Linked DNA regions of Homo sapiens: region 2 is linked to region 1. The links are contacts of gene promoters, found by promoter capture Hi-C in human tissues and cell types (Jung and others, 2019). All regions are on one chromosome and are shown on one strand. The core of a region is centred on a gene start or on the middle of the fragment in contact, and the rest is flanking DNA. Distances in the headings are between cores, read along the strand shown. Region 1 holds the start of FOSL1 (FOS like 1, AP-1 transcription factor subunit). Region 2 holds the start of CLCF1 (cardiotrophin like cytokine factor 1).

Region 1 (5,786 bases), core at 1,349-3,848:
TGATCAGTCCCAAAGGCTCTCACCCCTGGGTTGTTTTGTTTTGTTTTGTTTTTTGACGGAGTCTTACTCTGTTGCCCATGCTGGAGTGCAATGGCGCAATCTTGGCTCACTGCAACCTCCGCCTCCCGGGTTCAAGCGATTCTCCTGCCTCAGCCTCCCAAGCAGCTGGGACTACAGGCATGGGCCACCATGCCCAGCTAACTTTTGTATTTTTGGTAAAGACGGGGTTTCTCCATGTTAGTCAGGCTGGTCTCGAAATCCTGACCTCGTGATCCACCTGCCTCAGCCTCCCAAAGTGCTGGGATTACAGGCGTGAGCCACGGCACCCAGCCTATGTGTCAAATTCTTACTATGTGCTGTGCTAAGCATGTGACATTACTTGTGTCCTCCAACAACCCTTGAGATAGTTATCATTATGTCTCCATTTCACAGATAATGAAAGAGGCTCTGAGAGATTGTGTGCCTCACCTAGGTCACACAACTGGTGAGCAGCCTAACCACATTCAAACCCAGACCCCAGAGCTGTCTGACCCCAGCACGGGTGTTCTGTCCACGGATCATACTGCCTCAAAAACACTCTCCTCTCCTTTCTCTCTCTCTTTCTCTCTCTCTCTCTCTCTCTCTCACACACACACACACACACACACACAGAGATGATGATGACAAGAGGGTGACAAGCATTGGGTCGCTCAAAGGCAAAGGAGAGGCACCAGGCTGGTAACCACTTTCTGAGTGCATAACACTTTATAGCTTACAAAGCATTTTCACATCTGTGATCTCACTTGATCCCACAACAGCTCTGTGAGATCAGCAGGGAGGCCCAGTTGAAGGAAGGTGACCTGCCCAGTGTCACACAGACAGAAAATGGTAGCTCTGGGACTAGAACCCCAGGGGCAATCTGGACTTCCTGGCTCTAAGTCCTGAGTGCACCCACAGGCTTCTGGCCTGTGTTCCCAAGGAAAGTAGCCCAGAGGGCAAAGCTAGAGCTGATGAAATGGAAGGACCGATGGAGAAGCAGGAGAGCCCAGCCCTCTCTTGATCTATTTACTTTGAGTCTTGCTCTGTCCCCCAGGCTGGACTGCAGTGGCGCAGTCACAGCTCACCGCAGCCTCAACCTCCCTGGCTTAAGCCATCCTCCCGCCTCAGCCTCCAGAACAGCTGGGACCACAAGGCAGGCGTACCACCATGTCCAGAAAATTTTATAATTTTTTGTAGAGATGGGGTCTCAAATGGTTCTTTCTGCCTTGGCCTTCCAAAGTGCTAGGATTACAAGCATGAGCCACCACACCTGGCCCCAGCCCTCTTTCTGTAGTCGTGTGACAACTGACAGCTCAGTACTCCATCTGGGCCTCAGTTTCCTCATCTATGATGGAAGTAATCAGAGAGAAGCTTTGGGATGGTGCCCAGCACTAACATTCTGGATGTGCGACAAGGTGTCTGTGAAGGTGTAAGGGCTTTGAAAATCTTGGCTGAGCCTGGGCTTGGAGTGCCCACGGCTGTGACTTGGCAACCTGTGCCAGCTACTCACTTAGCGACTTCAAGCAATTCATTTCAGCATCTCCCAGCCTCAGTTTCCCCATCTGTAAAACAGAGATGAGGATGATACCTGCCTCACATTCACTCACCTTTGACATACTCTCCAAACAAGTCTGGTGGCCACAAGCCTCCGAAAGGCACTGACCGTAATGAAGATGGCGTTTATCAGACCTCAGGACACCTGTAGTGGCCCTGAATTAAAACTCGTTATAGCTCCTGAAATTATCCTGAGTAATACTATTATATTGCATTTTATGTGGGGTTAGTTCAAAGCATTACCTTATCGCAAACATTTAAAATATACCACCCAGCCTGGGCAATACGGCGAGACCCAATCCCTACAAAAAACACAAAAATTACCTGGGTGTGGTGACGCGCGCCTGTAGTCCCACTTACTTGGAGGGGGCGCTGAGGCAGGAGAATCCCTTTAGCTCAGGAAGTTGAGCCTGCAGTGCGCCGAGATCGAGCCACTGCACTCCAGCCTGGGTGACAGAGACCCGGTCTCAAAAATATAAAGTAAAATAAAATATGCCACCATTTTTGTAACCCTGGTTTGTCATTTATTCACTTTTCATATACTCGAAGCCTTAAAACAAGGCCAGTGGAAAGACCTCACTCCACGAAGCTTTGGGTGGCGGTTGGCGTGGCTCCTAGAGATGTGATTCTTTCGTGCTATTTTGTGGGAGCAGAAACGGAGGTTAGCCCAGGCCTCGAGAGGGCTGGGGCGGGGCGCGGGCTCTGGCAGGTGCGTCAGTCCGCAGGGGAACCCGGGGCTCCACCTGGGCGCGGCGAGGAAGTTACACCATGTATGGGCAGCTACGTCAGGGGGGCGGGCCCGCAGCCTCCGGGGAACGCCGAGCCGGGCCCATCCCGGTGAAAAGGCTGCAGCCGGACTTGGGGAGGCGTCGCCAAGTTCGGGACCGACGGGCCAAGGCGGCGCGTCTCGGGGGTGGAGCCTGGAGGTGACCGCGCCGCTGCAACGCCCCCACCCCCCGCGGTCGCAGTGGTTCAGCCCGAGAACTTTTCATTCATAAAAAGAAAAGACTCCGCACGGCGCGGGTGAGTCAGAACCCAGCAGCCGTGTACCCCGCAGAGCCGCCAGCCCCGGGCATGTTCCGAGACTTCGGGGAACCCGGCCCGAGCTCCGGGAACGGCGGCGGGTACGGCGGCCCCGCGCAGCCCCCGGCCGCAGCGCAGGCAGCCCAGCAGGTGAGTGGGGCCCGACGCCGGTGGTCCCACGGGAGGACCGCGCGTGGGAGGCCGGGGTCAACTCCCGCACGCTCCGGGACTGGAGCGGGGAACCGGAGTCGGGGCCGGGCTGGGGGCTGGGGCGAGGATCCTGCCCCTCGCCGTCCGGGGCCAGTTGCCCCCACCGCGCAGCGGGCAGCAGAGACCCGCGAACTCCCCTTCTCCCAGCCGCCCCCTTCTCCCTCGCCGTCCGCGTCCGTCCCTCCGTCTCCGTGCCCGCTTTCTCTCCTCCTGCCCACCTCTGACTTCTGCGTCCACCCTGCTTCAGAAGGGGCGTGGGCGCCTAGGGTGGTCGCCTCGAAGGCTAGGAGGGTCTCTCCGCTTCGGGCTGAATTCCTGGGATCTGGAGTCTGGGCTGGGGTGAGGGTCCCCACACGGGAGGGAGGCGGGATCCGTCGGGAGAGCAGCTGGGCCAGGGTGGGAGTCCCGGCCCGGTCTGCGACCCTCCGCGTGTCCGTCCGTCTGTCTGTCCTTCGCCCCTCCGTCGCCAAGTCCCTATCGTTTCTCGGCCTGGGGAGTCCAGGGGGGTCCGGGCAGTGGAACCTGCCAGGTCCCCGGAGACCGGCCCTCGATCCCTTTGCCGAATGCGGCGAATAGAGACCTCGAGGTTCCGGGACGTGCGCGGGGTCAGGCTGCGGGCGACTCTCGCGACCCCACTCTCAGCCCCTAACGGCGCCCGCTGCCCGCCGGGGGGCACCCGGGAGGCTGCAGGTGCCCATTTCCTGTCGAGGGGCTGCGAGCACGTGTCGACAGGGGAGGGAAGGAGGGGCGTCCGTTCCGCCGAGTCACGGCGGCCGAGTCACGGCGGCTGAGTCACCCGGGGCGTCCCTCCCTTCCTGGCCTGGAGCGGCCCGGGCCCGGGAGTGGGAGATGCCGCCGGCGGTGCCTCGGACCCGGAACTGGGGTCACTGGGACGCCGGGCCCGCAGCGCTTGGGCTCGGGCTACCGCTGTCGGGACTTGCCTGGGCTTGTGGGCGCTTCCCGGACGATTGGGCGCCCACACCCAGGGCCCAGCGGCAGAGCTAGAACCCACTTCTCCCAGAACACTGAGCCCCATCCCAACCCACTCCTCAGATAGCTGGCTGATAGAATGGGAACAGGGACGTTGTGCTGGGCGCTTGCTACATCATTTACCATATTTCACGGAATCGAAGACCTCATCGATTGAAAAAAAAACCCACTATAACTTTATGCCACTAATTTTCTTTCCTTCTCTTTCTTTTCTTTTTTTTTTTTTTTCTGAGACAGGGTCTCCCTCTGTTGCCCAGACTATAGAGCAGTGGTGCAATCACAGCTCACTGCAGCCTCAGCCTCCTGGGCTCAAGCAATCCTACTGAGATCCTAGCTGGGAAGCGACCTGGCCACAGGCACGCACCACCACACCCAACTAATTTTTTAATTTTTTTGTAGAAATGAAGTCTCACTGTGTTGCCCGGTGTGACCTCAAACTCCTGAGCTCAAGTGATCCTTCTACCTCAGCCTCCCAAAGTGCTGGGTATGAGCCACCATGCCTAGTCCACTAAAATTTTTTAAATTGCCAATTAAACTATGATTTCAGAGCTATTAAAGGGTACTTCTTAACATCAGTGAAATCCTGTAATCCTCACCTGTAACAATATTAAAAATGAGGAAACTGAGGCACATGGAGGTTAAATAACTTGCCCATGGTCACACAGCCAGTAAGTAGCTGAGAGCTGAGATTAGAATTGGGACAGCCTGCCATGCCAGGTGGCTAAAGCCTGTCATCTCAACACTTTGGGAGGCTGAGGTGGGTGGACTGCTTCAGCTCAGGAATTTGAGACCACCCTGGGCAACCTAGTGAGACCCTGTCTCTACAAAAAAATTTAAAAAAAATTAGCCAGGCCGTGCGCGGTGCCTCATGCCTATAATCCCAGCACTGTGGGAGGCCAAGGCGGGTGGATCACCAGAGGTCAGGAGTTCAAGACCAGCCTGGCCAACATAGTGAAACCCTGTCTCTACTAAAAATACAAAAATTAGCCGGGCACAGTTGTGGGCGCCTGTAGTCCCAGCTACTCGGGAGGCTGAGGCAGGAGAATTGCTTGAATCCAGGAGGTGGAGGTTGCAGTGAGGCGAGATCGGGCTACTGCACTCCAACCTGGGTGACAAAGCAAGACTGTGTCTCAAAAAAAAAAAAACAGAAAAGAAAAAAAAAATTAGCCAAATGTGGTGGTGCACGTCGGTAGTCCCAGCTACTTGGGAGGCTGAGGTGGGAGGATTGCTTGAGCCCGCAGGTCACTGCACTCCAACCTGGGTGAAAGAGTGAGACCCTGTCTCAAGAAAAAAAAAAAAAAAAGCAATGGAATGGCCTGAACCCAGAGCAGTGACTCTTTCCTGCCTCAGCCCCTCTGCACTGGGCACCTGCCACTTACCAGACTGTCGCACACATTCTCTCACCTGATTCTCACAGCCTCCCCTTGAGCTGGGAGCTGTAATTATCCTCTTCGTGCAAACGGGTGCAGGAGTGGGTAAGAGCCCAGCTGCTGGGCTCATTGGCTCTGTGTCTGCGGACAACTGTTCTCCCGTCTGAAAATGAAGATACTAGGCTGGGCGCTGTGGTTCACGCCTGTAATCCCAGCACTTTGGGAGGCCGAGGCGGGTGGATCACCTGAGGTTGGGAGCTGGAGACCAGCCTGGCAAACATGGTGAAACCCTGTCTCTACCACAAATACAAAAATTAGCCGGGCATGGTGGTGCACGCCTATAATCCCAGCTACTCAGGAGGCTGGGGCAGGAGGATCACTCGAACCTGGGAGGCGCAGGTTGCAGTGAGCTGAGATCGTGCCACTACACTCCAGCCTGGGCAACAGAGTGAGACTCCATCTGAAAAAAAAAAAAGAAAAAAAAGAAAGAAAAGAAAATGAAGATATTACTGTGCCAATGATATGAGTCAGTATTTGTAAAGTGGTTAGAACAGTTCCTGGCAGTTTGTGCTTTATAAATGTTAGTTCTAATGGGGAAATGGGGGCACAGAGAGGTTATGT
Region 2 (5,786 bases), core at 2,388-4,887, 1.5 Mb before region 1:
AAAGCTCTACCTCCTCCAGGAAGTTCTCCTCCCACCATCCTCCTTGGCCCTAAATGTACCCACTGCCACCTATGGCTGATGTCAGACAGTTTAATGAGTGTCCCTAGACTGTGGAATTCTTTTCTTTTGAGAGAGGGTCTTGCTCTGTTGCCCCAGGAAACAAAGACCATGTGTAGTGGTCATAGCTCACTGCGGCCTCAAACTCCTGGGCTCAAGCAATCCTTCAGCCTCAGCCACCTGATTAGCTGGGACTATAGGCATGCGCCACCATGCTGGGCTAATTTTTAAATTTTTGGTAGAGATGGGGTCTCTATGTTGCCCAGGTTGGTCTCAAATTCCTCAAGGAATCTTCCTGCCTGGGCTTCCCAAAGCGCTGGGATTACAGATGTAAGCCCCAACTGTGACATTCCTAAAAGCAGGGATGGGTTTTCCTTGCCTTCTCTCTGTCCTTAACAGGACCTGGCAGAGACTGAGAAAGTGCCTGCACAATGTACCCCTGGAGCAGACGGAGCGCTTCTCTTTCCCATGCTTGTCTGGAGCTGGGGGGACTGGCGTCTCCTCTAAGCTGTGCCCTCCCACCAGCAACCCCAGATTGTTAGCACTGGAAGGGCCCCTAACAAGATTCTTTTTGAGAGCCACAGGGGAGCAGGAACTTTCCCAAGGTCCTGATTTCCAGCTGGAAATCAGAGGGCAGCCACCTGTCCTGCCCCATCCCACGGAAATCTTGGAGGGGCTACTCCTGCTCCGTCTTTCCTCTCTTCCTTCTTCCCCAAACCCCAGCAGCTACCCCCATTTAGGGACTTGGCAGGATAAAGGCACAGTCTTTATTCCAGCCCCCGACCCAACCCAACTGGCAACTCCCAGCCTGCTGCCTTTGCCCAGGCATGGCAGAGGGGCACTGGCAGCTTGGAGATGGAGCTGCTTTTCCCTTTGGCAGTGTGGAAGGTGGGGGAGGGGAGGGGAGAGGCTTGGCCCCCACTAGGTGAGGGGAGAGGGCAGGGAGGCAAGTCCAAGAGGCAGAGGGAGAACACAACTTTCCCAGCTTTCGGGGTCACTACATTAAGATTCAAAGACAAACTGGGGACTGGGGGGCTGTGTGTAAAGCCAATTGTCCCTGTACCCACCTGGCCTGGGTCCCTGTTTCAGAGCTGCAGCCCTCAGTTCCTGCAAACCAGTGCTTTCTGGCTGCCCCAGGTGGATGTGTGCTGGGGATGGCGTTGTCCACTCCCACCTTCTGCTTCAGTGTCTTCCTCTCCCCGCATCCGCTGCTTCCCCCTCTTCCTCCCAGCTCCCTCCTCCCCTCTTTCTCACTCCCACCCATTTGCCTCTTTGTGTCTCCTCTTTCCTTCCCAGTCTTGCCCCTTCTCTGGTCTCACCCCTCTTCTCTCGCCCCCGCCCCTTTCTTCAGCGCCCCCTCCCCTCCGCTCCCCCGACACTGGGGCTGCTTTCTCCCTGACTCAGCAAGGTGCTTTATAAGGTGCTGAGGGGCTCAGCCAAATCCAAACCACATTGTGCAGACTCCACAAGGAGCGGCTTCGAGGCGGAGGGAGAGGCTGAAGCGGCTCCCCTTCTCCCTCTCCCCTCCTTCTTGGCCCCCTCCCTCTGAAAGGGTAGCAGCTAGGGGGACCTCCTGGCTGGCCTCCGTGCCATGCACCCATGGGCATCTGCCTTCTTGACCTTGGCATGGGCATCAAGAAATCACTGGGTTCATCCATCAGGAATGTCACTGAAACTCCAGAGTCCTGGCTGGTGGGGGCAGGGAGGAGGTGCGGGGGCGGTGGGGGGGGCAGAGGTAGGCCCTGAGCACTTTTCACAAGGGTCCCTCCAGGCAGTTTTCATCAGAGCTGCTACTGAGGTCCCTCAAAGTCCCCTGCCCCCCACCCCAAGCCAGCTCTCCTTTCCCAGCCCTTTTTCTCCTTGTTTAGGAAAAAAAAAAGGAAGAAAGGACAGAGAGAGAGAGAAAAAAAAAAACCAACCCAACAACAAAGTCTGTCCCACTCCAGTGAGGTAATTGAAAACAAACTTCTTCCCCACCCCCCCCACCCCCCCACCTCAGTGCTCGCGGTACAGAGAAGGGAAGAGCTGCCCTGGGACCCAGCACTGGCCATGATCAGGATGCCTGCCCAGGCCACAGGTTGGAGGCGCTGGGGCTGGACTGGCAGAGTGCCCTCCCATTCCAGGGGCACCAGGAAGGAGTGGGAGACAAATCTCTGATGCCACTCCAGGGAGAGGCATCACCTTCCAGGTCTGGCCCACCACTGGCCTCTCCCACTTTGAAACAATAAATAAACAACAACAAAAGCAACTTATTACCCAGTGATTTAATTGGTGGTGTGGCTATAGGGCACCCAAGCCTTGGGGACCACATGACTCTCCCCCAGGAAAATCATGAAGCAGGGCAGTCCCCAGCCCTGGGTTAGAGCTGCCTCCTCTGAGCGTGTTCTCCCCGGCAGCCCTTGGAGAGGGAGGAGGGGACCCCCTCTGGGAGGGTCCAGGCATACCCCCAGGTATCCTGCCCAGCAAATCCCAACCCAGGCCTGCGGGAAGGAGGGGGAGCCCTCACCGCTAAGCCACCCCCACCTCACCACCGGAAAAACCAACAACCCGAAACCCCAAAGGAAGGAGAATGCCAGGGTCTTCATGGGGAAACATTTCACAAATGGGGACGCTCGGGCGGTCCATCGCCTTGAATCGGAGCATTCCCGCTGAGTCACCCAAGAAGCCTGTGGTGTTGAAACTGGTCCGTTGCCTCGTGCTGATTAATGAATTACAAATCCCCCACCCATGTACATTCTCCCTGGTCACTGGAGGAAGAATGAAGAACCTTGTGAACTTGAGGGAAAAAGTCCCGCCAAGTGGCCTCTTCTCGCCTCTGGGCCGGGCAGTGGGCCTGCAGTGCCCTCTTCCTCCCCCGCAGGGGGCATTGTGAGCTGGTTAGTCACCTGCCCCAGCCCCAGCGCCTCGCTTAGCTCTAGCTTTTGGAAATGGGACAAGCGGCGGGACAATAGGCAGGGGGGGCGGTCAGCCCAGACAAAGGGCAGCAGGAAAAACACCATCACTTGCTCCCAGGCCAGCTCGCTGGCATTTGGGAGAATGTGTCATTGCATTTACTCAAGGGGGAGGAGGAGGGAAGGTTAGAGATGAGGAGGCAGAGGTAGGGTGGGAGCAGGGACCTCGCACAGGCAGAGGTAGGTTGGATCAGGGACCCCGCATCGGCAGGGGACAGGGGGCAGGGGGCGGTGTCCCAGGCCAACGCCTGGGGAGAAGCCCACCCGAAGCCGGCGCTGTCCCCCGGCTCCTGGGAGTCCTCAGACGGACTGATGGCCTCCCCGCCCCCTCCCCCAGGAGGCCCAGGGTGGTACCGCCACAGCCTCGCCTCACCTCACCCCCCCTCGGTGCTGTGGGAGGGAGAGGGAGCCCCAGAAGCCCTCCCTTCCCTCCTCCCCCCTCCTACCCCCACCCCGGGGAGGGCCGCTACAATTTGTGGTTACAGCTTTACACGTCAGAAAAAAAAAAAAAAAGTTTGCAGAATGTCCCACACCGAAAAAAAAAAAAAATCCGAAACCGAGCGAAAAAAACCTGCGAGTGGGCCTGGCGGATGGGATTATTAAAGCTTCGCCGGAGCCGCGGCTCGCCCTCCCACTCCGCCAGCCTCCGGGAGAGGAGCCGCACCCGGCCGGCCCGGCCCCAGCCCCATGGACCTCCGAGCAGGTAGGAGCCAGGCGGCCGAGGCCCCGACCCCCGCCCCGCCAAGCAGCCACGAGATCCGGTTCCCGTCCTGCCCTGACCCCCGGGAGCCCCGCGCCGGGGCCGGGCCAGGGAGCTGGGCTCGGGCCGGGGGAGGCACGGCTGGGCGCCCTCGAGAGGGGCCGGGCGGGGACGCGGCATTCCTGGAGTCCGCACGGCGGGGCCAGGAGGTGGCCGGGAGCGGCGGGGAGCCCGGACGATCGCAGACCTGGGGAGGCGGCAACCTGGAGCCCCAGCGAGGCGGGCCGTAGGAGCCGCAGCCCCAGAGCCCCGCGCACCAGTCGGGGCCAGAGAGTCCGAGGCGGGGAGCGAGGCTGCGGGTGGGAGGAGGGGCTGGGAGAGGAAGAGGGAGGGAGGCCGGGGGAGCCCGAGGCCGGGCGGCGGGAGGCGAGGGGAGGCCGACACCTCGGGCCGCGCCGCTCTCCCTCCCCGGCCCGCCGGGAGGGGTAGGAGGGCGGGCGGGAGGAAGGGCGGGCGGCGGAGAGGAGGGCGGAGGGCAGCGCCGAGCCTGGCTGGGCCGGGCCGGACGGGCCGAGCCGCGCCGCGGGACTCGCGGCTTCCTAGCTACGCGCCGCGCGGCCGGAACCCTCCATGGTGCCCACGGCCGGGGAGCCGGCGGCAGGTAGGGGCGGCGGGCGGCGGCCGCGAGTCCCCCGGGCCACCGTGGCCTGGGAGTGATTATTGTTTGGCGGGGGGCTGGCGCAGCCGGGCCGGACCCGGCAGGAAAAAGTCTGTCACTGGCCAGGGAGCGGCGGGAGCAGCCGCTCAGCCCGGGCAGGAGGGGAGTTGACGCGCGGGAAAGGGCAGCGCCGGGCAGAGCCCGGAGCCCGGTGCCCCGGACCCCGCCCCCGCCCCCGCCCCCGCCCCCGCCGCGGGGAAGGAGCGACCGGGCGGGAGCGGGAGGGGGCGGGGCCGGGGGCGCCGAGGCCACACAGGGGGAAGGCGCAGCGCCGGGAGGGGTCCCAGAGCGAGAGGTCACCGCCAGCAGGGAGGGCCAGCTGGCAACCGCCGCCGTGCAGCTTCCCGGCCGAGCCCCTCGAAGGAAACCTTCGAAAGAGTCCCCGGGGCTCGCCAGAGGTCCCCTCATGCTTGCTCTCCCCACCCGCCTTCCTTTCCACAACTCCGTGCTGGGCTTCTGGAGCCCTCCCCACAGACCCTCCCAATCCCAGAGGACCCCTGTTCCCCCAGCTCCCAGCCTGGCCCTCCCCCCGGGGTGTGAGGGGCTACCAGGAGAGGAGGGGAGACGGGCGGGTGGAGGCTAAGCCTTGGAGAGAGGCTAGGGGTGGGGGGCACTGGGCACGCTGCTCTACTGGGTCCTCCTTCTCTGACCCTAACCCAGGGACACCTCTGTGCTTTCACTGACCCCGACTGACCTCCGCCACAGCTCGGGAGCACACGTTGCCCCTCACACCGGACAGGATGCGAGTACATATTCCCCTAACAGACCAGACGCGCTCCTGGCCAGCTCAGACACCCTCGCTGCCCTGGAGCCACACGCTCCACCGGGGAGGAAGCAGAGATGGCAATTGTCACCCGGCAGCCCCAGAAGTGACACTGCTGATGGGTGCAATGGCTCCCTGTCCCCTTCATTCACAGACCCACACTCTTGTCCGTCACACTTCTGCACACCACCCCTGCACGCCACCCCTGCACACCAGCCACTGGCTCACTGACACTTCACATTCCTCCCCACGTCCCACCTCTTGTGCACACCTGGCTCCTGCACTCTCCTCCCCCCCCACGCCCCTCTTGATAACAACACCCTTTCCAATTCACCCACCACTGCCCTGGACTCCTCCTTCACTGCTCCTCCTGCCTCTGGCTCTCAGTGGGCTGCTGGGCTCCCCCCTGGCTCCCCGCTGGCCTCCCTGAGCACACCCATGGCCCTCTTGTGGCACAATCAGGAACCCTCTCACTCCAGCCAAAGCCCAACTCCTGTCTCGCTTGCTTGGTTACTGACTTCATAAGGCAGTGGGGCTGGCCCACCCTCAGCTTCTTCCCCTGGGCCTCAGTGACCTCTGTCATTTAGGCTGGAGGAG

What was found. The method cuts DNA at HindIII sites, captures the fragments that hold promoters and counts their contacts. A contact is called where the count stands out against the background at its distance.
Region 2: a contact is called between the fragment with the promoter of CLCF1 here and the fragment with the promoter of FOSL1 in region 1, in 1 of the 25 tissues and cell types used here (dorsolateral prefrontal cortex).

Annotation. Positions count from the first base shown.
Region 1 is chr11:65,897,200-65,902,985 of GRCh38, reverse strand. FOSL1 (FOS like 1, AP-1 transcription factor subunit) reads left to right here and starts at 2,598. Exons shown (of 4, transcript NM_005438.5): 1 at 2,598-2,745. The coding sequence starts at 2,647. RefSeq lists silencers at 2,207-2,806, 3,415-3,534, 3,500-3,727. The HindIII fragment of the contact is 4,995 bases long and covers 1,776-5,786 here.
Region 2 is chr11:67,371,449-67,377,234 of GRCh38, reverse strand. It overlaps CLCF1 (cardiotrophin like cytokine factor 1), which reads left to right and starts at 3,637. Exons shown (of 3, transcript NM_013246.3): 1 at 3,637-3,711. The coding sequence starts at 3,696. All of the region lies in intron 2 of LOC100130987 (a long non-coding RNA gene), which reads right to left. RefSeq lists silencers at 3,299-3,348, 3,909-4,248. The HindIII fragment of the contact is 15,975 bases long and covers 1-5,786 here.